Regions from separate parts of the Homo sapiens genome. Here all the other regions are linked to region 7. Evidence: promoter capture Hi-C in human tissues and cell types (Jung and others, 2019). All regions are on one chromosome and are shown on one strand. Each heading gives the region's core, a stretch centred on a gene start or on the middle of the fragment in contact. The rest is flanking DNA. Distances are from core to core; before and after follow the strand shown.

Region 1 (3,291 bases), core at 494-2,993, 470 kb after region 7:
CCTGGCTAATTTTTTTTTTTTTTTTGAGACGGAGTCATGCTCTGTTGCCCAGGCTGGAGTGCAGTGGCACGATCTCGGCTCACTGCAAGCTTCTCCTCCTGGGTTCACGCCATTCTCCTGCCTCAGCCTCCCGAGTAGCTGGGACTACAGGCGCCCGCCACCACGCCCAGCTAATTTTTTGTATTTTTAGTAGAGACGGGGTTTCACCATGTTAGGCAGGATAGTCTCGATCTCCTGACCTCGTGATCCACCCGCCTCGGCCTCCCAAAGTGCTGGGATTACAGGTGTGAGCCACCACGCCCGGCCATGCCTGGCTAATTTTTGTATTTTTTGTAGAGATGGGGTTTTGTCACGTTGCCCATGCTAGTATTGAACTCCTGGGCTCAAGTGATCTGCCTGCCTCGGCGTCTCAAAGTGCTGGGATTATAAGCGTGAGCCCTTGCAACTGGTCTCTTGATTTATTTTGAACCACTGAAAAATGCAAAAACCATTCTTAACTCATAGGCCACAAAAAACAAGCCAGATGCGGTGGCTCATTCATGTAATCCCAGCACTTTGGGAGGCCGAGGCAGGCGGATCACTTGAGGTCAAGAGTTCAAGACCAGCCTGGCCAACATGATGAAACTCCGTCTCTACTAAAAATACAAAAAATTAGCTAGGTATGGAGGCAGGTGCCTGTAATCCTAGCTACTCAGGAGGCTGAGGCATGAGAATCGCTTGAATCTGGGAGGTGGAGGTTGCAGTGAGTTGAGATGGCGCCACTGCACTCCAGCCTGGGTGACAAAGTGAGACTCCATCTCAAAACAAAACAAAACAAAACAAGCAAACACACACACACAAAAAAAAAACAGTCTTCAGTCTTCAGGTTTGACTTGTGGACTGTAGTTTGCTGACCCTTTTTCTATTCTGGGACTCCAGGTGAGAAATGAGACCCTAGGTAGAAGTCCTAAGGTAGGGGTTTTGGGTTTCTGGGAAAGAATAAGTTTATTTATTTATTTATTTGACAGAGTCTTGCTCTGTTGCCCAGGCTGGAGTCTGGAGTGCAGTGGTGTGATCTCAGCTCACTGCAACCTCCATCTCCCAGGTTCAAGCTATTCTCTTGCCTCAGCCTCCCAAGTAGCTGGGATTACAGGTGTGTGCCACCACACCCAGCTAATTTTTGTATTTTTAGTAGAGATGGGGTTTCACCATGTTGGCCAGGCTGGTCTCGAACTCCTGACCTCAGGTGATCCGCCCACCTTGGCCTCCCAAAGTGCTGGGATTACAGGTGTGAGCCACTGCGCCCAGCCGAAAGAGTGATTTTTTTACTGAATAAAGTTGCCCAACAATGGAACTGGTTCTGGTAATGTGTCCCCATCACTAGATGTGATTAAGGCATGTGTCAGGGAATCTAGAGGTTTGACCAGAAACCTCAAAAACCCGTTGGACTTGTGATATTCAATGACTCTATTATATGGTAACAATAAGAAGTATAATGTATTGAGTCGCCACTCTGTACTAGGCATTGTGTTAAGCTTCCCCCAAGTACAATCCTCATTGATATCACCACAGTGCTGTGAGATGGGTCCTATTTTCATTTCACAAGGGAGAAAACTGAGGCTCAGTGTTGACATTTAGTAACATGGCCTGGATTCAATAGGCCCTTAACTACCCTGGACTCTTCCCCTAGATTCCTCTTAATCTGTAGAAGTGTAAACACTTCTGGCTCATTCCTGCATTTATTCTTTCAGTAGTTCTTTCCTGAGCAGCTAGTGAGTTGACACACCCAGGTTCTGCCTTAAGGAGCTCACAGCCTCCATTTTCCTCCAGGGACTCTTCCTCAGTAGAGCTGGGCAGGGAACCCCGCACTCTTGACCTTCAGTGTTACGCCAGTCTTCTTAGAGCCTCTCACTGGGAGACTGATGATAGGCAGAGTAAGAGGCATCTTGGGCTGCCCTTTGGATCCCAGGGCACTGAGGATACAGTTCAGGGTCCCAGATTCCATGACGGGGAAGCCTGAGAGTCTGGCCTGATGCTAGTTTGGGCTCCATGAGGCCCATTCTGAGAACGAGGTCAACATGCAGCCCAAAGCCATCCTGGGGTGGCATTTAGTTGAGAAAATGGACCTTGTTTGTTTCTTTCCAGTATGTGGACCAGCATTCGCCCATCTCAAGGTTGGCGTGGGACATCGGTTGGATGCCCAGGCTTCTGGAGTACTTGGTAGGTGATGTGAGAAGCCTGGGGGTACAGTGATAAGGCTTGAGAAAAGATCCTGAAGCTACCAGGAGCCCAGCCCACTTCTTACCTGGCACCCACGTCCCACCACTCCTCTCCTGCCCTGATTCCTGCCCCAAGGCTGATCAGCTGGGGAGTGGATAGGTGGGACGGAGGTAATCACAGGTTAATACCACAGTCACCCACCTTTATTCAGTGATTCCCACACATGACATAGTTCGAGGCCCTTTATGCACATTTATTTACCACAACAACTTTATTAGGTAGATACTATATGATTTTATGGAAGAAGAAAGTAGGATTTAGGTGACTTGTTCTGGGTCCCATGGCCAGTGAATACCCCTGGTCCGGAGAAGGAAAACCATCATTGCATCATGGGGCAGCCAGGCGCGTGACTCTGGACCTAATGGCCAGGGCCTGCATGTGGCTGGGTCTGGACACACAAAGCCCTAGTCATGAGCCATCTGTGTCCCCAGGGTCAGGTGGTGCCCACATCCTCCAGCCGCGACAGTCACAGTCCCCTTGTCTTGCTTCCTGAGGCACAGGCAGGCAGACATGATCTCATGCCCCCTCTCCCTGTTCTGTCTCCCCACGAGTGAATGCAGAGTTATTCTGTCCCTCAGCCAGAGGGAGAAACAGACCGGGAGAAAGGCAGGAAGTGACCACAGTGGCCACCGTTTATTGGGCCCTTCCTCTGTGCCGACTGCACAGCACCCACAGGAATCAGTATTTTTTTTTTTTCCTGAGACAGAGTCTTGCTCTGTCTCCCAGGCTGGAGTGCAATGGCATGATCTCGGCTCACTGGAACCTCCGCCTCCTGGGTTCAAGCAATTCTCCCTGCCTTAGCCTCCCGAGTAGGTGGGATTACAGGTGCCCGCCACCACGCCTGGCTAATTTTTTTTTTTTTTTTTTGTGAGACGGAGTCTCACTCTTGTTGCCCAAGCTGGAGTGTAGTGTAGCACCACACCTGGTTAATTTTGTATTTTTTGGTAGAGATGGGGTTTCACCATGTTGGCCAAGCTGGTCTCAAACTCCTGACCTCAGGTGATCCACCTGCCTCGGCCTCCCAAAGTTCTG
Region 2 (2,876 bases), core at 308-2,807, 290 kb before region 7:
GATGCTCCAGGCTCAGCCAGGTCCATCACAGCCTGTATCATGCTGCACACAACTGCCTGCCAGGTTCCTTCTGGCTTGTTGGATTGTGAGCACTCCAAGAAGCTACTCTGAGGCCAGGAGGGGAAGCTGTGAAGGTGCAGAGGCCTTAGCAAGTCTTTCCCCACCTCCAGGCTTTGGCTTTCCTCTTATAAAGCAGCTGGTTTTCATAGTGCAGGAATGCAGGGATATTTCAGGCCTGTTAAGCATTCTAAAAACCAGAGCTAGCCCAGGGCCTAGCACTCAGAAGTGTTCAGTGGATATTGACTGAATGAATGAATGGATGAATGAATGGTAGACAGGCAGGCAGGCAGGGCCCAGGACCTGGCAGGGCCATACCACCCCCAGTACAACCCAGAACACCAGCGTCAACGTTCTTTGGCATTCAGTCCTGGTGCCCTCAGCGGACCCAGGTTCTCACATCTCGCAAGACAGCAGCATGAGCAGGCCCTTCCCAGGCAACCAGGGCTCAATGAGGGGCTCCAGCCTTCCCTGGCACTCAACCATCTTACCCAGGGAGGGTCTTGCAAGGTGGGATAACATTAACTGCAGGTATTTACTGAACGCTTACTGCATGCCGGGCACTGTACTCAGCCCTTCTTGTGCCTCCTGCTATTTGATGCTCATACCATCACCAGAAGGTAAGCACTGTAATCAGTCCCACTTTAGAGATGAATTAACTTAAGCAGAGGCAGGCACCTGCACAAGGCCTCAGCCTCAACTGGAGCCCAGATGGGTCTGACCCCCACGCCCAGGCTCTGCGCCACTCTTACTAGACAGCCTCCAGAACGCCGCTAATGGACCTCTCAACTGGAAAGCCCTGCACTTCGAGAGGTGTGTCTGATGGGAAGCAACAGAAGTCAAGTTCCCGGAGGCTGCCCGCCCCCTCATCGGGTCCTCTCTGTTGTGGAATCGTGCCCTGCTCAGGGCGTGGCACCACAAGTACTCAAAAGCCTGGCTTCGGCTTGCACACTCCCAGCAACGGGGAGCTCTTTCTCTTACAAGCAGCCCAAAGCACTGTTCGAAGGAAACAAGACACTCCCTGCACGCTGGAACAGGAGTGCGGCCTCTCTGGGACAGGGGAGGGCGGGGAAGAAGGGCCAAGGTCCAGGCCAGGGATCTTTTCTCGCCTCACACAGATCCTCAACCCATTTCAGCCCACCGGCGCCCCGGGACCCGGGGGAGCGCCCTGGCCGCGCAGCCGCAGAGTGCGCGAGCGAGCGCCTCACAATTTCGCCCAGCTCATCCTCGCACCACTGCGCCTGCGCGGCGCGCGCGCCGGCCGAGCCCCTCCGTGGTTCACTATTTGACAGTTCCCACCCCGGTCCCCCGGCGCCCCCTCCGCGGGCTCGAGCAGGCCGGAGCGCCCGGGACTGAGAGGCCGTCCCTGGGAAGGCGTCCTTGGAGCCGGGACCGCCTTTTACCTGCAGGATATTCGACGTGGGTGAGGGTCACCGGCCGCCATGAAGCGGGGAGCGAGCACTGTCCGTCCGCTGCCATCTTACCCGGAGACCGGGCTTCTTCGAGCAGCCAATGGGGAGCCAGGGGGGCGGTGGTCCTGACCTATCACGCCGGGGAGGCGCCGTGCACCCAATCGGAGGCCAATATAGGTAGCGGCGCAGCCATTCAGCGTGCAGGCCGTGGGGGCTGGCCCGAGCGGCGAATCAGAGAGCGGGGCCCCTGGGAGCCAACGAGCCGCCCCAGCTGGCGCCCAATCTGGGGCGAGCGCAGGTAGGCATCTGGCCAATCAGAGAAGGGGAGGGTTCCAGCACCGAACAGGGAGCATAACAGCCAATCAGAAGGTGAGGCTGCCTCAGCTTGTGGGCAGGGCGGGCCAATCAGGCGCTGGCTTTGGGGGCGTGTTGAACTTTGGTGGGAGCTTTGGTTCGGCTGGGACCTGCGCCCTGAATGAAGGCTTCCCTGGTACCCCCTGCCGATCCGCGGTCTTGGGGACCTGCGCGTCCGATAGCGCGTGCTCGAAGAGGAGAGGCAACCTCAGCTCCAGGGGGTTTGAACCGACCCACTTTCAGTTACGAGTAAACTGAGACCAGAGAGCAGAGGGGGCTTATTTCCCTCTGCCCCATACTGGCCGGCGAAAGGGCAAGTCACACAGAGCAGGCGACCTTTTTGTCAAAAGTGTGTGGGGCGGGGCGCGCAGTAGGCGCCCTAAACGCTGGACTGAACAGAGAAGCTTAATTGATACTTAAGAGTGGAAGCTTAGCTACAGTTAAGGACTCCTTCCTCCTTTCATTCATTTAATAAAGATTTATTGATTCAGTCACGTCTATGCTACTTAATGAGGCGTCTTGGGAGCATTTCAAACAAGAAGTCGGTTTTCCACCTACCCCTCAGTTTTCCCAAGACATTCCTGCGTGAACAGCCACACCTTCCCACCCGCCTTCACCTCTCCTACCCGACTCTGTCTCTGGCTGGATTGGATTACAGTGCAGGTAAGGTGGGCTGGGAGGGCTCAGCCTCTTGTCTCCTGCCGCTAGCATGTGCTGTTTTTGTCTGTTTGTTTGTTTTTTGAGACAGGGTCTTGCTCTGAGGCCCAGGCTGGAGTGCAGTGGAACGATCTTGCTCAGCCTCCTGGGTCCAAGTGATTCTCCTGTCTCAGCCTCCCGAGTAGCTGTGACTACAGGCGCGCACCACCGCATCCGGCTAATTTTTGCATTTTTAGTAGAGACCGGGTCTTACCATGTTGGGCAGGCTGGTCTCGAACTCCTGGCCTCAGGTGATCCACCTGCCTCGGCTCCCAAAATGCTGAGATTACAAGCGTGAGCCGCCATGCCCAGCTAATTTTTTTTTTTTTTTTTTGAGACGGAGTCTCGCTCTGTTGC
Region 3 (3,244 bases), core at 619-3,118, 450 kb after region 7:
ACAATGCATATTGGCGGTGCACGCCTCATTACGATTCGCTTGCTTGCTTCTCCTGTTCAATCGTTTCTTTGGAAGGCAGTGGATTTTTCTCTTGCATCTCTGTCTTCTTCAGTTTCGACTTATCGAATTTCTCAATCTCAGCCATATCGGGTTTGTCAGACATGGTTGCGGAGGAAAAGCGGAGCGAGGCATGCGAGAACGAGCGAAGTCTGGTCTGCGCAGTGGCCACCACCGAGTTGTCCTGAGACGTGTTCTAAGAGGCTTTTCTAGCCAAAACATGACAGTTCACTCTTCTGACATCCAGGGTCCCTAAAACCGGATGGCCTGGGGGTGGGTACTGACTTAAGAGCCTCTGGCTCGCTGGCAGTGGTGGCTCACACCTGTAATCCCAGCACTTTGGGAGGCCGAGGCAGGCGGATCATGACGTCAGGAGTTCGAGACCACCCTGACCAAGATGGTGAAACCCTGTCTCTACTAAAAATACAAAAATTAGCCAGGCATGGTGGCACACACCTGTAACCCCAGCTACTCAGGAGGCTGAGGCAGAAGAATTGCTTGAACCCGGGAGGCGGAGGTTCCATTGAGCCGAGATTGTGCCACTGCACTCCAGCCTGGGAGACAGAGCGAGACTCCGTCTCAAAAAAAGAAAAAAAAAGTCTCTGGCTCGACTCCCCACCCAGAACCCAGGGAGGTTCTGTGGATGACCAGGCCAAGTCAAAGGGGCAGCTCCCTGGAAAAGGAGCCCTGCTTGGTCCCTGCCCATAGACTCAGGTATCGCAGTGCGTCTGTTGGTCTATAGAGGGCGACCCAGAAAACGAGTTAGAGCCTGGAAGTGCTTGAAAGGTGACCGCCCAGGGGGCAAAGCTGATTGAGGGAGGCGAGGAGGACCTTGAAGACACCACCACCCATCACACAGACACACACAGCCACTCGGATGAATCTTTGGGGTCTAGGGCTTAGGGGAAGGCGAATGACTTGACTGTGCTTCAGGGGCTGGGTTGAGCTAGGACTCTTGGGTTCTATTCCTGGAGCTTTGAGGACTCGATCAAGGGGACATCTGATGGGACTGTTTTTCTCCGAGTTTTCCTGTTCTTGGGAGTAGATGAAGGTCACAAATGTGAAATGGCCTGAGAGCCTCCAAGCCAGGAAAAGGGAATGGTCTGGACCACAAGAAGCCCTGGGAGACCATCTCCCCCTCCCCCTCGCGAAAAGCAAAAGCCGGGGGCGGGGGAACTGAACCAGAGTCCTCAACCCCAACGCCAGGGTCCAGGGTCCTCAGATCTCTGGCCTCCCATAGCCCGCCATAGCAGAGGGGCAGGAACCTGTCCTGGAAGGCTGGGGCAAGAAGAGGCCAGAAGAGGGTGACTAGTTCCCTCGGGCCCCTGTCCCGGGTCACGCGTGCCGCCCTCGCCCCTAGACAGCAAGGTAACAGTGCGTCTGTCGGGGAAATAGCGCCGCAGGGCGCGCCCCCCACCTGGGGTCCGCACCGCCACCTCGCCCGACTCGGCCTGGCACATGTCCCCACCCGGGAACCCACCAGCCCGGTCTATGCTCACCCGGCGTCGGCTCCGCCGCGCGGCGCCCCGTCCAGATGCGGCCCGGTTGCAGCAGCGTAGACAGCGTGAGGGGCATTAGCCGCCCCTGGACGCACGGAGCCGGGTCTCAGCAGGGTTTAGCCGGCTCTGCGCCCTGCATGGCCCGGCCGCCCCGCCAGCCCCGCCCGCCGCCCGGCCCCGCCCGCCGCGCTCCTACCCCGCCCGCCTCCCGCACCCCAAACCTGCTGTGCCAGGCCGCAGCACCGCCTGCCGCACCTTCCCCGAAGCCGGCAAGCCACAGAGCCGGCGGCGCAGCGCAGCCCCAGCGCGCCTGACGCCGCTCGGCCCCAGCCCGCCCTGCTCGCGCAACGGCTTCGGGCGGCGCCGCCGCGCGGCACGCTGGGAGTTGTAGTCCACGCCGCGCGGCCCCACCCAGCCGAGGAGACCCCCGAGTCCGCGAGGAGACAGGCGGGCTTCACCCCGGCCCTTCCTCCCTGCCGACCCCGGCCCTTGCCCCCTGCTGTCCCCAGCGCCCGGATGTAGGAAGAGCACCCCAGTCCACACCACAGCCGAAAACCCGGAGCACGCTCTCGGGCCCCGGCCGAGTTCAGCAAACACCCAGCACCACACCTAGAAGCTCGCTAAGAGGGCGGTTTCAGGCAGAGGTGAGCGGGGCGGCCGGGTTCCGCAGCCGGCTCTGTGGCGCAATGGATAGCGCATTGGACTTCTAGCTGAGCCTAGTGTGGTCATTCAAAGGTTGTGGGTTCGAGTCCCACCAGAGTCGAATTTTGATGGCTCCTACTCCCTGACTTTCACCTGCGTGTTTTAAGGACTCCAGGACCTATCTAACAAATAAGGTTCAGAACGAAAATCATAAGTCACACCCAACTTTGCTGCGACACAGCCATAAACCTGGTGTCTAGGTGACTACGAGAAATCCTTTCTCGTACCATGGTGTCTTGTGAGCAGCCTGGCACACCTGTTGGCACAAAGGACACGGATTTGGAGGCCCTTAGTTAACTTCACCATCTATGATCTCTGGTCCCTGCAACAAATCAGTTAACCTATATTTGTCATGCCACCCTTATTTGTCATGCCACCTCCAGAGCCATAGGCGAGTGGCCAGATTCTCGGCCCTGTTGGGACTCTTGGCCTCTGAAAAATTGGTTTCTTGTTAAGTAACCATGTTGGGCATCCACAGTTGCCACTTGTCCTTAAACATTAATAGATCCCTGGGAGGCTGAGGCAGGAGAATTGCTTGAACCTGGGAGGCGGAAGTCGCAGTAAGCCGAGGTTGCGCCACTGCACTCCAGCCTGGGCGACAGAGCAAGTCTCCATCTCAAAAAAAAAAAAAAAAAAAAAAAAAAAAAAGATTCTGGGACTGGCGTGGTGGCTCAAGCTTGTAATCCCAGCACTTTTGGAGGCTGAGGCAGGAGGATCACTTCAGCCAGGAGTTCAAGACCAGCCTGGGCAACATAGTGAGACTCTGCCTCTACAGGAAAAAAAAAAAAATTAGCCAGGTAGCTCTTGCTTGTACTCCCAGCTACTCAGGAAGATGAGGTGGGAGGATTGCTTGAGCTCTGGAACTTGGGGCTGCAGTGAGCTGTGATTGCACCACTAAACTCCACCCTGGGCAACAAAGTAAGACCGTGTCTCAAAAAATAAAAATAAGCTGGGCACAGTGGCTCATGCCTGTAATCCCAGCACTT
Region 4 (3,123 bases), core at 590-3,089, 370 kb after region 7:
TTCTGTGACCTGCTGTGTGACCTCAGGCAAGTCCCATCTTTCTCTGGGCTTCACGTCCTCCCTCTATAACTTAAGCTGTCCTGCTTATGTCATGGACAAAGATAAGAGAAGAATAATGCATTTTTTTTGAGATGGAATCTTGCTCTGTCGCCCAGGCTGTAGTGCAGTGGTATGATCTCGACTCACTGCAACCTCCGCCTCCCGGGTTCAAGTGATTCTCCTGCCTCAGCCTCCTGAGTACCTGGGATTACAGGTGTGCACCACCATGCCCGGCTAATTTTTGTTTGTTTAGTAGAGATGGGGTTTCACCATGTTAGCCAGGCTGGTCTTGAACTCCTCACCTCAGGTGATCTGCCCACTTCGGCCTCCCAAAGTGCTGAAATTACAGGCGTGAGCCACCACACCTGGCCAACGAATGCATTTTGAAAGATGAAAAGTACCTCGACTTTAAGGATCACACCTGGTGCATTCCCTGGTTACCTTCGTTAGGTGGGCAGATACCTACCTATGTGACCTGTGGCTGTGTGACCACAGGCCAGCCCCTGTCCCTCTCTGAATGGGGACTAGACAGAAGAGCTGCTGCTTTCCTCCACCCCCAGGTTGTAATAAGGACCAAACCATGCTCTAAGCGTCCCTAAGAATGCAGATGGGTCCAAGCTCTGCTGTCATGGGGCACAGCCTCCCCTCTCCTGGGGAAGGGGCCCCCATAACAGAGGTGGGGGTTTAGCCAAGTGCCCAGGTTTTGGGTGATGCTGCCCCTTTAAGCCAATTCCCCAGAAATGAAGACTACGTGTCAAGTCTTACAGGGGTGGGAACTAACAAACTCCCAAACTGTGGTAATTGTGGGCGGCCTCCCCAGGCCAGGGCTCCACCCCCCCAGCCCAACTGTGGTGTGTTGAAGAGGGTGGCTTGTCATTTTTCTCAGTTTACCCCCAACCTCAGCCAGGGACTCCTCCCTGTTCTGGTGTCTACAGACCAGGGGTTGTGGCCTTCGATCCCAGTGCCCTGGGGGTACAGAGATGCCAGAGGGGAGAGGCTCCAGGAAGGGGGACTGCCCTTGGCTGACAGGATCCCGCCCCTCTACCAAGATCTACCAAGAGAGCTGGCCCCAGCACGGGGGCGGTGGGGGGGCCGGTCTGACTCCCCTGCACAGCCCGGAGCCCAGTGCTGATGGCACCCCCAACCTGTGCCCGGAAGCCTCCAGCGTGGTCGATCCCTGCCACGTTGGGCCCCAGTGGACTTCAGAGGTTCCTGTCTGCTCCTCTTCAAATCCAGCCAACCACAGGTCCCACTGGGGTTGAGCTGGGCCCTGAAGGCTGGGGTGAAAAGGGCTGGCTGGGCCCAACCTACACCCAGGGAAGGCCCCAAGAGGAAGGAGTAGGGGACCAGAAGGAGGGGTGGGTGTCCCGCGTCGGCCTGTGGCCTCAGAGGTCTGTCGTCTCCCAGCAGGGGGCTCGGGGTCCTCTCTGGCGGCTCGGGCTGGCAGGGCCGTCTGTGAGGGGAGGGGCCTGTCTAGGTGGTGTCTGGGCAGGGAGCGAGCAGACAGGGCCGCCGGGGGCGGGGGCCATCTGCGAAGCTGGGGGTTAGGTGCCCACTCGGTGCCAATGCCCGGGTCTCTCACCAGAGGGCCATCCTGGCCCGGGGGTAGTCCAGCCGCTCCAGAGCGCCCAGGTAGTGGGGCAGCGAGTGTTCGGCATTGCGGGCCAGGATGGCAAGGACCACGGCGGGCAGCGGCGACTCCGCAACGCCCGCAGCCTCCAGCCACGGCCCCAGCAGGAGCAGCAGCTGGAGCAGCGGCGCGGCGCGGGCAGCGCGCATGGCGGGCGCTTGGGCGGCTGCAGCGGCCCCCGGAGCTCTCGGGCCGGCCGAGGGGAGGGGGCGGGGCCTGGGGCCCGGGCGGGGCCGAGGCAGACCCGGAGAGGGCGGGGCAGTGCACCCTCAGAGTGGGATCCTGCTCCCCACCCCTGTGCGTGGATGCTCAAGTTTTCTCTCCTTGGCCCGGGGCACCGGAGGGCCAGGGCCCGGGGACCCGCGCCAGCCGCGACCCTGGAGCAGCCCCGCCCGGCTGGACCCCGGAGGGGCGACGGCGGAGGGGCCGGAGGACCGGACAGGGGAGGGGTGCTAGGACGAGTGCGTCGGGGCCGGCCGGGCGTCCGAGAACAGTAGGGGCTCATGGAACCCCTGGGCGTTGAACCCCCGGAATCCGGATTCCCCGGCCCACGCAGCCGACTCTTCGACCTGAGCCGCAGACCCAGAGGGGCGGCGCCCACTCGGCCACCACCTCCCGGGCTTCCCCGGCTCCCGCCCCATCCTCCGCCCCGGGCGCCCTCTGGCGGCCCTGGCGCTAGCTCCGCAGACCAGCCGGGCCACGCGTGGGCCGGAGACCCAGCGTGGGGGGCGCAGAGGGAGTCCCCCTGAGCTGGGCGCGTCCTCCCGCGGCGGTCCGCTCCTTAAGTCCCCTGTGCGTCACCTCCTTGCGTCGGTCGCCAGCACCCGCATTGCTTCGGCCCTTTAAGAGAGCACAGCCAGGCCGGGCGTGGTAGCTCACGCCTGTAATCCCGGCACTTTGGGAGACCGAGGCGGGAGGATCACCTGAGATCAGTTCAAGACCAGCCTGGCCAAGATGGTGAAATCCCATCTGTACTAAAAATACAAAAATTAGCCGGGCGTCGTGGCGGGTGCCTGTACTCCCAGCTACTTGGGAGGCTGAGGCAGGAGAATCGCTTGAACCCGGGAGGCGGAGGTTGCAGTGAGCCGAGATCGCGCCACTGCACTACAGCCTGGATGACAGACCGAGACTCCGTCTCAAAAAGAAAAAAAAAAAAAGAGCACAGCCCTCACAGCCCTCTCTTGGTCTGAGTGTAGAACTAGGGGACACCACGGAGCTGCTCACTGCGACCCGACCCGTCCGTCCTCCAAAGCAGGGGATGTTGGCTCCCCTGGAGCACCGCCGGGGTCCTTAGGACCCTGCTGGGAGGGAAAGAACTCTGCAGCCTCTCGGGAGAGGAGCAGAAAAGGGAGCGGCCTGGCGGCACCACAGATGGGATCGAACTGGGTGTCTGTCACCAACCTCAGACAGGTCCCTTTCCCTCAGGAGCCTCTCGGGTAAAATCGGGCTGATAA
Region 5 (2,909 bases), core at 48-2,547, 260 kb before region 7:
CAAAAAATACAAAAATTAGCCAAGTGTGGTGGCGTGGCCTGCAGCCCCAGCTACTTGGGAGGCTGAGGGTGGGGGATCAATTGAGCCTGGGAGGTCAAGGCTGCAGTAAGCCATGATCGCAATACTTCATTCCAGACTGGGAAGCAGAGTGAGACCCTGTCTCAAATATATATACATATATATATATAAATTTTTTTAGGATGGGCTGGGTGGATCATGTCTGTAATCCTAGCACTTTGGGAGGCCGAGGTGGGTGGATCACTTGAGGTCAGGAGTTCGAGATCAGCCTGGCCAACAAGGTAAAACCCCATCTATAATAAAAATACACAAATTAGCCAGATGGGGTGGCGCACGCCTGTAATCCCAGCTACTCAGGAGGCTGAGGCAGGAGAATCGCTTGAACCTGGGACACGGAGGTTGCAGTGAGCCAAGACTGTGCCACTGCACTCCAGCCTGGGCAACAGAGCAAGAATGTCTCAAAAAAAAAAATTTAATGAAATGCACCAAAGGTTATTTTTTAAAATAGAGACAGGGCCGGGCACAGTGGCTCACACCTGTAATCCCAGCACTTTGGGAGGCTGAGGTCAGCAGATCACATGAGATTAGGAGTTCGAGAGAAGCCTGGCCCACGTGGTGAAAGCCTGTCTCTACTAAAAACACAAAAAATTAGCCAGGTATGGTGGCACCTGTTTGTAATCCCAGCTACTTGGTAGGCTGAGGAGGAGAATCCTTGAACCCGGGAGGCAGAGGTTGCAGTGAGCCAAGATTGCGCCATTCCACTCCAGCCTGGGCGACAGGGTGAGACTCTGTCTCAAAAATACAAAACAAAATAGCCTGGGCACAGTGGCTCATGCCTGTAATCCTAGTACTTTGGGAGGCCGAGGTGGGTGGATCACCTGAGGTCAGGGGTTCAAGACCAGCCTGGCCAACATGGAGAAACCCCGTCACTACTAAAAATACAAAAATTAGCCAGGTGTGGTGGCACACGCCTGTAATCCCAGCTACTTGGTAGGATGAGGCAGGAGAATCGCTTGATCCTGGGAGGTGGACGTTGCAATGAGCTGAAATTGTGCCACTGCATTCCAACCTGGGCAACAGAGTGAGACTGTCTCAAAAAAAAAAAGTAAATAAAAATTAAAAAATAATAATAAAATAAAACAAAGAAAGCCGGGTGTGGTGGCACGCACCTGTAATCCCAACTTTTGGGAGAACGAAGTGGGCAGATCACCTGATGTCAGGAGTTTGAGACCAGCCTGGTCAAAATGGTGAAACCCTGTCTCTAGTAAAAACATAAAATTAGCCAGGCATGGTAGCACTCCCAGCTACTCGGGAGGCTGAAGCATGAGAACTGCTTGAATCTGGAAGGCGGAGGTTGCAGTGAGCCAAGATTGTGCCACTGCCCTCTGCCCTAGGCGACAGGGCAAGACTCTGTCTCCAAAAAAAAAAAAAAACAGAGACAGGGCCTCCACATACCACCCAGGCTGGTCTCAAACTCCTGGGCTCAAGTGATCCACCTGCCCCAAAGTACTGGGATTACAGGTACAAGCCACTATACATGGCCAATATTTTGTTAGAAGTGAGAAAAGTAGGGAAGGGAAAATAAGGTGAAATGAGAGCAGGCAGAGTGGGACAGGGCACAGAAGCTAAACGCTGTGCAGATGACTCCAGGTTTCCCAGGACAGACACAAAATTAGGCTGCCTGAGTGTCTCTCAGGGTCCTCTTCCATATTAGTCTCAAGACTTCTTGTTCCAATTCTAGGCCGGGCGCAGTGGCTCACACCTGTAATCCCAGCAATTTGGGAGGCTGAGGCGGGCAAATCAGGAGGTCAAGAGATGGAGACCATCCTGGCCAATATGGTGAAACCCTGTCTCTACTAAAAACACAAAAAATTAGCTGGGCGTGGTGGCACGCACCTGTAGTCCCAGCTACTCAGGAGGCTGAGGCAGGAGAATTGCTTGAACCCGGGAGGCGGAGGTTGCAGTGAGCCAAGATGGCACCACTGCACTCCAGCCTGGCGACAGAGCAAGACTCCGTCTAAAAAAAAACCAAAAAAAAAAAAACAAAACACTTATTTTTCCAATTCTAAAGATAATACTTTCCTTTTGCAACAATAATACACAATTAAAATTTATTTTCACAGGAGACTTTTGCTTCTTATTTTTTTAACAGAGACAGCGACTCTCTATGTTGCCCAGGCTGGTCTTGAATTCCTGGCCTCAAACAATCCTCCTGCCTCCCAAATTGCTGGGATTACAGGTATGAGCCACCACACTCAGCTAATTTATGTTCTTTCTCTTTTTAAAAAAAAATTATTTATAGAGACAGGGTCTCTCTATGCTGCTCAGGCTGGTCTCAAACTCCTGGACTCAATAATTCTCCCGACTTGGCTTCCCAAAGTGCTGGGATTACAGGTGTGAGCCACCACACCCGGTCTACTTTTGCTTTTTTTTTTTTTTTTTTTTTTTTTTGAGACAGAGTCTTACTCCATAGCCCAGGCTGGAGTGCAGTGGTGTGATCTCGGCTCACTGCAACCTCTGCCTCCCGGGTTCAAGCGATCCTTCTGCTTCAGCCTCCTAAATAGCTGGGATTACAGGCATGCACCCCCATGCTTGGCTAATTTTTGTATTTTTAGTAGAGAGGGGGTTTCACCATGTTGGCCAGGCTGGTCTGGAACTGCTGTCCTCAGGTGACCCGCCCACCTCAGCCTCTCAAAGTGCTGAAATCACAGGCTACTTTTGCTTCGTTTTTTTTTTTTTTTTGAGATAGAGTCTCGCTCTGTCGCCCAGGTTGGAGTGCAGTGGCACAATCTCGGCTCACTGCAAGCTCCACCTCCATAGATGCCTGCCACCACACCCGACTAATTTTTGTATTTTTAGTAGAGACAGGGTTTCACCGTGTTGGCCAGGCT
Region 6 (3,013 bases), core at 183-2,682, 350 kb after region 7:
GCCTCCCAAAGTGCTAGGATTATACGCATAAGCCACCACGCCCAGCCATGCTTGAATTATTACAGTGGGTTCCTAACTGGTCTCACTGTTTCTTCCATGGACCTGCCTACAGTTTATTCTCAGCACAGTAGCCGGTGTGATCTTATAACACTACATGAGATCATGCCACATCTCTGCCAGGGTGATCATGTAAAAATGTAAGTTAGATGGTTACTTCTTTGCCTCCATCTCTCTGGGGGCTCCATCTCAGAGTAAAAGCCAAAATGGCCTTCATGGCCATCCCTGCTCTGGCCCCAGCCTTGGCTCTATCAACTCTAGACACTGGTCCTCCTCTCTTCTGCACTGTCAGTCCTGCTTCTGCCTCAGGACCTTTGCATATGCTGTTCCTTCTGCTTGGAAGCTCTTCCTTTTGCTATCCCCAAGGCTCAGCCCCTCCCCTCCTTAAAGTCTTTTTTTTTTTTTTTTTTGTCTATTTTTTTTTTTTTTTTGAGACGGAGTCTCACTCTGTCACCCAGGCTGGAGTGCAGTGGTTTGATCTCGGCTCACTGCAACCTCTGCCTCCCAGGTTCAAGCAATTCTCTTCCTCAGCCTCCCACGTAGCTGGGACTACAGGCGCCCACCACCACACCTGGCTAATTTTTGTATTTTTAGTAGAGACGGGGTTTCACCCTCTTGGCCAGGCTGGTCTTGAACTCCTGACCTCGTGATCCACCTGCCTCGCCCTCCCAAAATGGTGGGATTACAGGTGTGAGCCACCCTGCCTGGCGAAGTCTTTTGTTTTTGAGATGGAGTCTCACTCTGTCGCCCAAGCTGGAGTGCAGTGGTGCAAGCTCAGCTCACTGCAACCTCCACCTCCCAGGTTCAAGTGATTCTCCTGCTTCAGTCTCCCGAGTAGCTGGCATTACAGGCGCCCGCTAGCACACCTGACTAATTTTTGTATTTTTAATAGAGATGGGATTTCCCTATGTTGGCCAGGCTGGTCTCAAACTCCTGGCCTCCAGTGATCCATCTGCTTAGGCCTTCCAAAGTGCTAGGATTACAGGCATGAGCAACTATGCCTGGCCCACTCCTGCGTCTTTGTTCAGGTGTTAACTTCTCAGATCTTACTTTGTATCTCTCCGCTTCTCATTTTTCTCTATAGCAATTCACACCCTCTGATCTTTCTTTGTTTTTGTCTGCATCCCTCATTAGGATGTCAGTTTTGGCCGGGTGTGGTGACAGAAGGTGATAGAGTGAGACTCCGCCACAAAAAAAAAAGAAAAAAAAGAATGTCAGTTTAATGAGGTCAGGGGTTTTGTCAGTTTCATTCACTGCTGAATCCCCAGGGCCTGACTGCGGCCCATGGGAGGTGCTTAATAAAGGTTAACAAATGAATGAAGGGGACACCTGGAGCCTGGAGAGAAGTGAGTCGCTCAAGGTCATAGCCATCCAGAATGAATGACTTTCATCTTAGAACGAATAAAGCACCGAGTCCACAGCTCCAGCCCAAGGTCCTTCTCACAGCCGTGCCAGGTCCTGGACCTCAACCCCAGGACAGAGCCAAGGGATACCCCAACCTCAGGGAGTGCCTGTCAGGCTCTGCCAGGACTGGAGTGCTCACACAACCAAGTCAGGGGGCCACATGGAAGAGGAGCAGGAACGGTGGAAGCCAAAGCAGCCATGGCCAAGGCCAGGAGCCATCTCCCCTCCCACCCCTCCAGCTGCCTGAGTGCAGGCATGACAGACAGCGGCTGGGCCCAGAAGCCCGACTCTCTGGGGCCAGGGGAGAGGCCTGCAGTTCCCATCAGAAGAGCAGAAGACGCAGAGCTGCTGCGGGTTGCCCCAGCACCAATGGGAGCTTCCCTATGGCCCATGCTTCCTTCCTGGTGTTGGCCCCAACCCAGCAGAGAGCATCCTGGCCAAGTCCAGGCTCTGCCACCTTGCGCCCTCTGGTGGCCACATTGGTTAGTGCCAGAGGGGAACCCAGGATCTCCCCCAGCCCCTCCCAGGCGGTTCCTCTTCCCCTAAGCCAGGGTTTCAGCTGCACAAGAGATGATCCAAAGGGCCGGGGGACATCAGCAGCCCTTGGACTGGCTGGGCCCACCCTGACCAGCAAGGTGAGGCTGGTAATGACTTCGGGGATGACCACATCAGCCCCAACAGGTGAGCACTCACTGTGAGCCGGGCTCAGGCTAGGCCACTCTATACCCAACCAGCCACAATGACCGAAGAGTAGACTAAGGCCCAGGGAAGGGATGGCACCCACCCAAGATCACCCAGCACAGAGGTGATGCTGGATCGGCCTGACTCCTCACCTGTCCTCCCCTCTCTGTCCCTCCAATTGCTCAACCATAGATCAGGAAGCCTCCTCCCAGGCCAGCTGAGATGCAGAGGCTCAGCCATGAGTTAAAAAATATAAAGTAAAAATACAAAAATTAGCTGGGCGTGGTGGCACATGCCTGTAATCCCAGCTACTAGGGAGGCTGAGGAAGGAGAATCGCTTCAACCCAAGAGGCGGAGGCTGCAGTGAGCCGAGATCACACCACTGCACTCCAGCCTGGGTGACAGAGCGAGACTCTGTCTTAAAAACAAACAAATATATATACATGTATATATATGTATGTATACATATATACATGTATATACACGTATGTGTACATATATACACGTATATATACGTGTATATACGTGTGTGTATATACGTGTATATACGTGTGTGTATATACGTGTATATACGTGTGTGTATATACGTGTATATACGTGTGTGTATATACGTGTATATACGTGTGTGTATATACGTGTATATACGTGTGTGTATATACGTGTATATACGTGTATGTGTATATACGTGTATATACGTGTATGTGTATATACGTGTATATACGTGTATGTGTATATACGTGTATATACGTGTATGTGTATATACGTGTATATACACGTATATATGTATATATACGTGTATATATACGTATATACGTGTATATATATGTATATATATAAAGTGGCAGGGTGCAGTGGCTCACGCCTCTCATCC
Region 7 (3,270 bases), core at 305-2,804:
ACAACCCTGCAGTTAACCAAACTCACCAACACAGGAAGCTAGCTAAGGAATGAGGAAAGACTGTCCTGGGCTCAAAAGGTCCCAACTCTCATTCTCCAGGCTTCAGTCCTGTCCTGTTACTCTCAGGAATCTGGCACCTCCTGCGGAAAGCTTAGGAAAGCTTAGGGCATGCTAAGTGTGGCCACTGCCCCTCTGGGAAACCCCTCCAAGCTCAAGGCAGTCACTGCCTGTTCAGCTCTACAGAATCTGGAAAAGGCCCCAAGAGTCTGTGTGTAATTTCCTTCCAAGGCCCCAGCCCCCAGCAGCTGGGCCCCAGAGCTGACCAGGTGTGGCCTCCCCCTGTATTCTAGCCACAGGGCTGCTGTAGGGAAACCGTGAAAATACAGAATGGCTTCTTACCACTAAAGCTGAGTTCCCGCAGCTTTTCCAATGCAATTGAGGGCTCCTTCAGGACATCCTGGAAATCTGCAATTCTGGAAGGGGAGATAGGGCGGCAAATGAAGCATGCTGATATCGGCTCAGTGAGACCCACAGCCCTCAGCTCCCTCACACTGCCAGTTTCCAACCTGTGCCTCTCTCCCCTTTAGGACATAAAAATCACACAGCTTAGTCAAGGTCCTCACCAAAGACAGCTTTGGAGAACAACAAAACTATATTTCACTTCTTCCTCTACAACCAGAAACACAGAATGCCAGGGAAGAAACTTGAGAGATATTCTTGTCTAGAAGTTCCCAAATGAGGACCATAAAATTAGACATATTCCAACATTCTAATACTTAGTGAGCTGACATTTACTGGGCACTTCCTGCCGGCCAGGCCGGGTCCACGCACAGCCACCAACTGAACTCCTTGGACCTCAGGAACCAGGAGTAATTTGATATGCAGACAATGGACCATGCTCACAAATATAACCATTACAAGACCTCTGGGCCTGCCAGAAGGCAAGGACAAAGGGTTTAAAAAACACGTCCTGAAGGAAAACTGAAGAGTGAGCAAAATTCAGCCAATGCTGCAGGATCTGGCCTGGGGGAGGGGCCAGACTGGAGAATGCAAGTTCTCTAGCAATCCTAGTAAGAAAAAGGCACGGGGGACAGGGTGCACTTGGAGAGAGTACGGGAGCAGGGGGATCAAAAGGGGGAAAGGCACGGGGGCGGGGCATGGGGGTCTGGATGAGGAAGACTCAGGGGAAGGGGGACACCAGGGGTCCAGGATGAGGGAGGCAGAAGCAGTGACATCAGGGGCAGGAGAAGGGCCGCCCCTCCGTCGTTCCTGCAGCCCACAGGCAATGAGGTTAGAAGGTGGACGCTCGAGACCCTCTGCCGAGGGGGTCTGCCGATTCCTGGCCACACCCGCGCTTCCCCCTTCTGAGGGGCAGAAGGGGCAGCCTGGCCAGGAGTGGCCCAGCCGGGTCAGGCCCCATGGCCCCTTACCGGCTCTTGTGCAGACTTGACATGGTGTTGACTTCCGGACCCCCCAGCCGCCTCCGCCGCCTGCGCCTCTGCCGCCTGCGCTGCCGCCGCCGCCGCCGCCCCCCAGGGACGCGGGGCTCTGCGCAAAAGCCTCCGGCGGGAAACACAGCCACTAGCCTGCGCGTTCCACCGCCTCAGCCCCGCCCCGCCCCGCCAGTCACGTGCCACCCCTCGACTCTCACGCTTCCACACGGTACTGGCGGCTACGGCCGGCCGGGTTGAGCGGGGCAACCTCGGGTCTGGTGGGCGTGGCAATCGCGGGCCGGGAGCCCCAGCGCCGCCGACCCTGCGGGCCAAATTTGAGAACCCGCCGGTGACAGCGCAGACTGTGTGTCTCTGGACTATTCCTTGCGCTTCCCTGGGCCTCAGTGTCTACTTACGCAATATACCTGTCACCCTGTCGTCTTCCCTGCACTCACCCCCCTGTAATTAACTACTGCATGATTGTTACAGGAGTCTCGGCCTCCCCTGCTAAACTGTTCAGGCCCCCCAGCTTATCTTGGTCTCTGCAGAATCCTCAAGGCCTGTATAGCAGGGACTCGCATGAACCGCCGTGCGCGGCCCAACTTTTTTTTTTTTTATAAAAACTATACCAGCAAACCCTATAAAATGTAAGTTAGGAAGAAAGAAAAAAACACAAATGATATCTTAAGAAAAATAGGCTGGACCGGGCGCGGTGGCTCATCCCTGTAAATTCCAGTGCTTTGGGAGGACGAGGCAGGCAGACCACTTGAGGTCAGGAGTTGGAGACCACTCTGGCCAACACGGTGAAACCCCGTCTCTACCAAAAATGCAAAAATTAGCCGGGCGTGGTGGCAGGCGCCTGTAATCCCAGCTCCTCGAGATTACCTTCTTTACAAAAGATGTAAAAATTAGTTGAGTAGGCCGGGCGTGGTGGCTCACGCCTGTAATCCCAGCACTTTGGGAGGCTGAAGCGGGCAGATCACCAGGTCAGGAATTTGAGAACAGCCTAACCAACATGGTGAAACCTCGTCTCTACTAAAAATACAAAAATTAGCCGGGTGTGGTGACGCACAACTGTAATCCCAGCTACTCAGGAAGCTGAGGCAGGAGAATTGCTTGAACCCGGGAGGCGGAGCTTGCAGTGAGCCGAGATAGTGCCACCGCACTCCAATAGCGCCACCGCACTCCAACCTGGGCAAAAACGCAAGACCCTGTCAAAAAAAAAAAAAAAAGAAAAGAAAAGAAAAGAAACTGCTTAAAGATTTTCCGAAATGGTTGTATTATTTAACACCTTTTTCTTGAGAAAAAAAAAAAAAGAAAGAAACAGCTAGCCAGGCGCGGTGGCTCACGCCTGTAATCCCAGCACTTTGGGAGGCCAAGGAGGGCGGATCATGAGGTCAGGAGATCGAGACCATCCTGTCTAACACGGTGAAACCCCATCTCTACTAAAAAATACAAAGAAAAAAATTAGCCGGGCGTGGTGGTGGGTGCCTGTAGTCCCAGCTACTCGGGAGGCTGAGGCAGGAGAATGGCATGAACCTGGGAGGCAGAGCTTGCAGTGAGTGGAGATTGCACGACTGCACTCCAGCCTGGGCGAAAGAGCGACACTCTATCTCAAAAAAAAAAAAAGAAAAAGAAAAAGAAAAGAAAGTGCTTAAATATTTTCCAAAATGGTTGTATTATTTAACACCTACCCCAGCAGTATATGAGAGTTGCTGTTGTACCACGTCCTCACCAATACTTGATGTGGTCAGTCTTTTTAATCTTAGACATTCTAGTAGATGTGAAGTGGTATCTCCTGCTTTAACATGCATTTCCCTAAAGACATATGATGTTG

Evidence for each region. The method cuts DNA at HindIII sites, captures the fragments that hold promoters and counts their contacts. A contact is called where the count stands out against the background at its distance.
Region 1: a fragment that was not itself captured here is called in contact with the fragment with the promoter of TBC1D13 in region 7 in 1 of the 25 tissues and cell types used here (hippocampus).
Region 2: a contact is called between the fragment with the promoter of DOLPP1 here and the fragment with the promoter of TBC1D13 in region 7, in 9 of the 25 tissues and cell types used here (H1 embryonic stem cells, IMR-90 fibroblasts, dorsolateral prefrontal cortex and 6 more).
Region 3: the fragment with the promoter of SLC27A4 here is called in contact with the fragment with the promoter of TBC1D13 in region 7 in 1 of the 25 tissues and cell types used here (dorsolateral prefrontal cortex).
Region 4: a contact is called between the fragment with the promoter of CERCAM here and the fragment with the promoter of TBC1D13 in region 7, in 3 of the 25 tissues and cell types used here (IMR-90 fibroblasts, dorsolateral prefrontal cortex and lymphoblastoid cells).
Region 5: a contact is called between a fragment that was not itself captured here and the fragment with the promoter of TBC1D13 in region 7, in 1 of the 25 tissues and cell types used here (spleen).
Region 6: a fragment that was not itself captured here is called in contact with the fragment with the promoter of TBC1D13 in region 7 in 1 of the 25 tissues and cell types used here (spleen).

Annotation. Positions count from the first base shown.
Region 1 is chr9:128,316,060-128,319,350 of GRCh38, reverse strand. TRUB2 (TruB pseudouridine synthase family member 2) reads left to right here. Exons shown (of 8, transcript NM_015679.3): 3 at 2,125-2,199. LOC105376286 (a long non-coding RNA gene) reads right to left here. Exons shown (of 3, transcript XR_930377.3): 3 at 2,452-3,291. Among named protein-coding and RNA genes, the nearest start is that of TRUB2, 4.7 kb to the left of the region's middle. The HindIII fragment of the contact is 1,882 bases long and covers 803-2,684 here.
Region 2 is chr9:129,079,792-129,082,667 of GRCh38, reverse strand. It overlaps DOLPP1 (dolichyldiphosphatase 1), which reads right to left and starts at 1,557. Exons shown (of 8, transcript NM_020438.5): 1 at 1,461-1,557. The coding sequence starts at 1,536. RefSeq lists a silencer at 1,130-1,859. The HindIII fragment of the contact is 10,069 bases long and covers 1-2,876 here.
Region 3 is chr9:128,339,151-128,342,394 of GRCh38, reverse strand. SLC27A4 (solute carrier family 27 member 4) reads right to left here and starts at 1,868. Exons shown (of 13, transcript NM_005094.4): 1 at 1,557-1,868. TRR-TCT3-1 (tRNA-Arg (anticodon TCT) 3-1) reads left to right here and starts at 2,229; the gene lies at 2,229-2,319. It also overlaps the pseudogene TMSB4XP4. RefSeq lists an enhancer at 526-705 and silencers at 1,342-1,741, 1,812-2,221, 1,850-2,491. The HindIII fragment of the contact is 12,819 bases long and covers 216-3,244 here.
Region 4 is chr9:128,419,573-128,422,695 of GRCh38, reverse strand. It overlaps CERCAM (cerebral endothelial cell adhesion molecule), which reads right to left and starts at 1,839. Exons shown (of 13, transcript NM_016174.5): 1 at 1,622-1,839. The coding sequence starts at 1,818. RefSeq lists an enhancer at 1,104-1,293 and a silencer at 1,554-2,453. The HindIII fragment of the contact is 34,497 bases long and covers 1-3,123 here.
Region 5 is chr9:129,045,002-129,047,910 of GRCh38, reverse strand. The region is part of intron 3 of MIGA2 (mitoguardin 2); the gene reads right to left. Among named protein-coding and RNA genes, the nearest start is that of MIGA2, 9.8 kb to the right of the region's middle. The HindIII fragment of the contact is 4,265 bases long and covers 1-2,909 here.
Region 6 is chr9:128,437,721-128,440,733 of GRCh38, reverse strand. No RefSeq gene overlaps it. Among named protein-coding and RNA genes, the nearest start is that of ODF2, 17 kb to the left of the region's middle. RefSeq lists a silencer at 1,943-2,116. The HindIII fragment of the contact is 5,750 bases long and covers 1-3,013 here.
Region 7 is chr9:128,785,537-128,788,806 of GRCh38, reverse strand. TBC1D13 (TBC1 domain family member 13) reads right to left here and starts at 1,554. Exons shown (of 12, transcript NM_018201.5): 1 at 1,431-1,554; 2 at 400-473. The coding sequence starts at 1,453. RefSeq lists a silencer at 1,417-1,906. The HindIII fragment of the contact is 9,895 bases long and covers 1-3,270 here.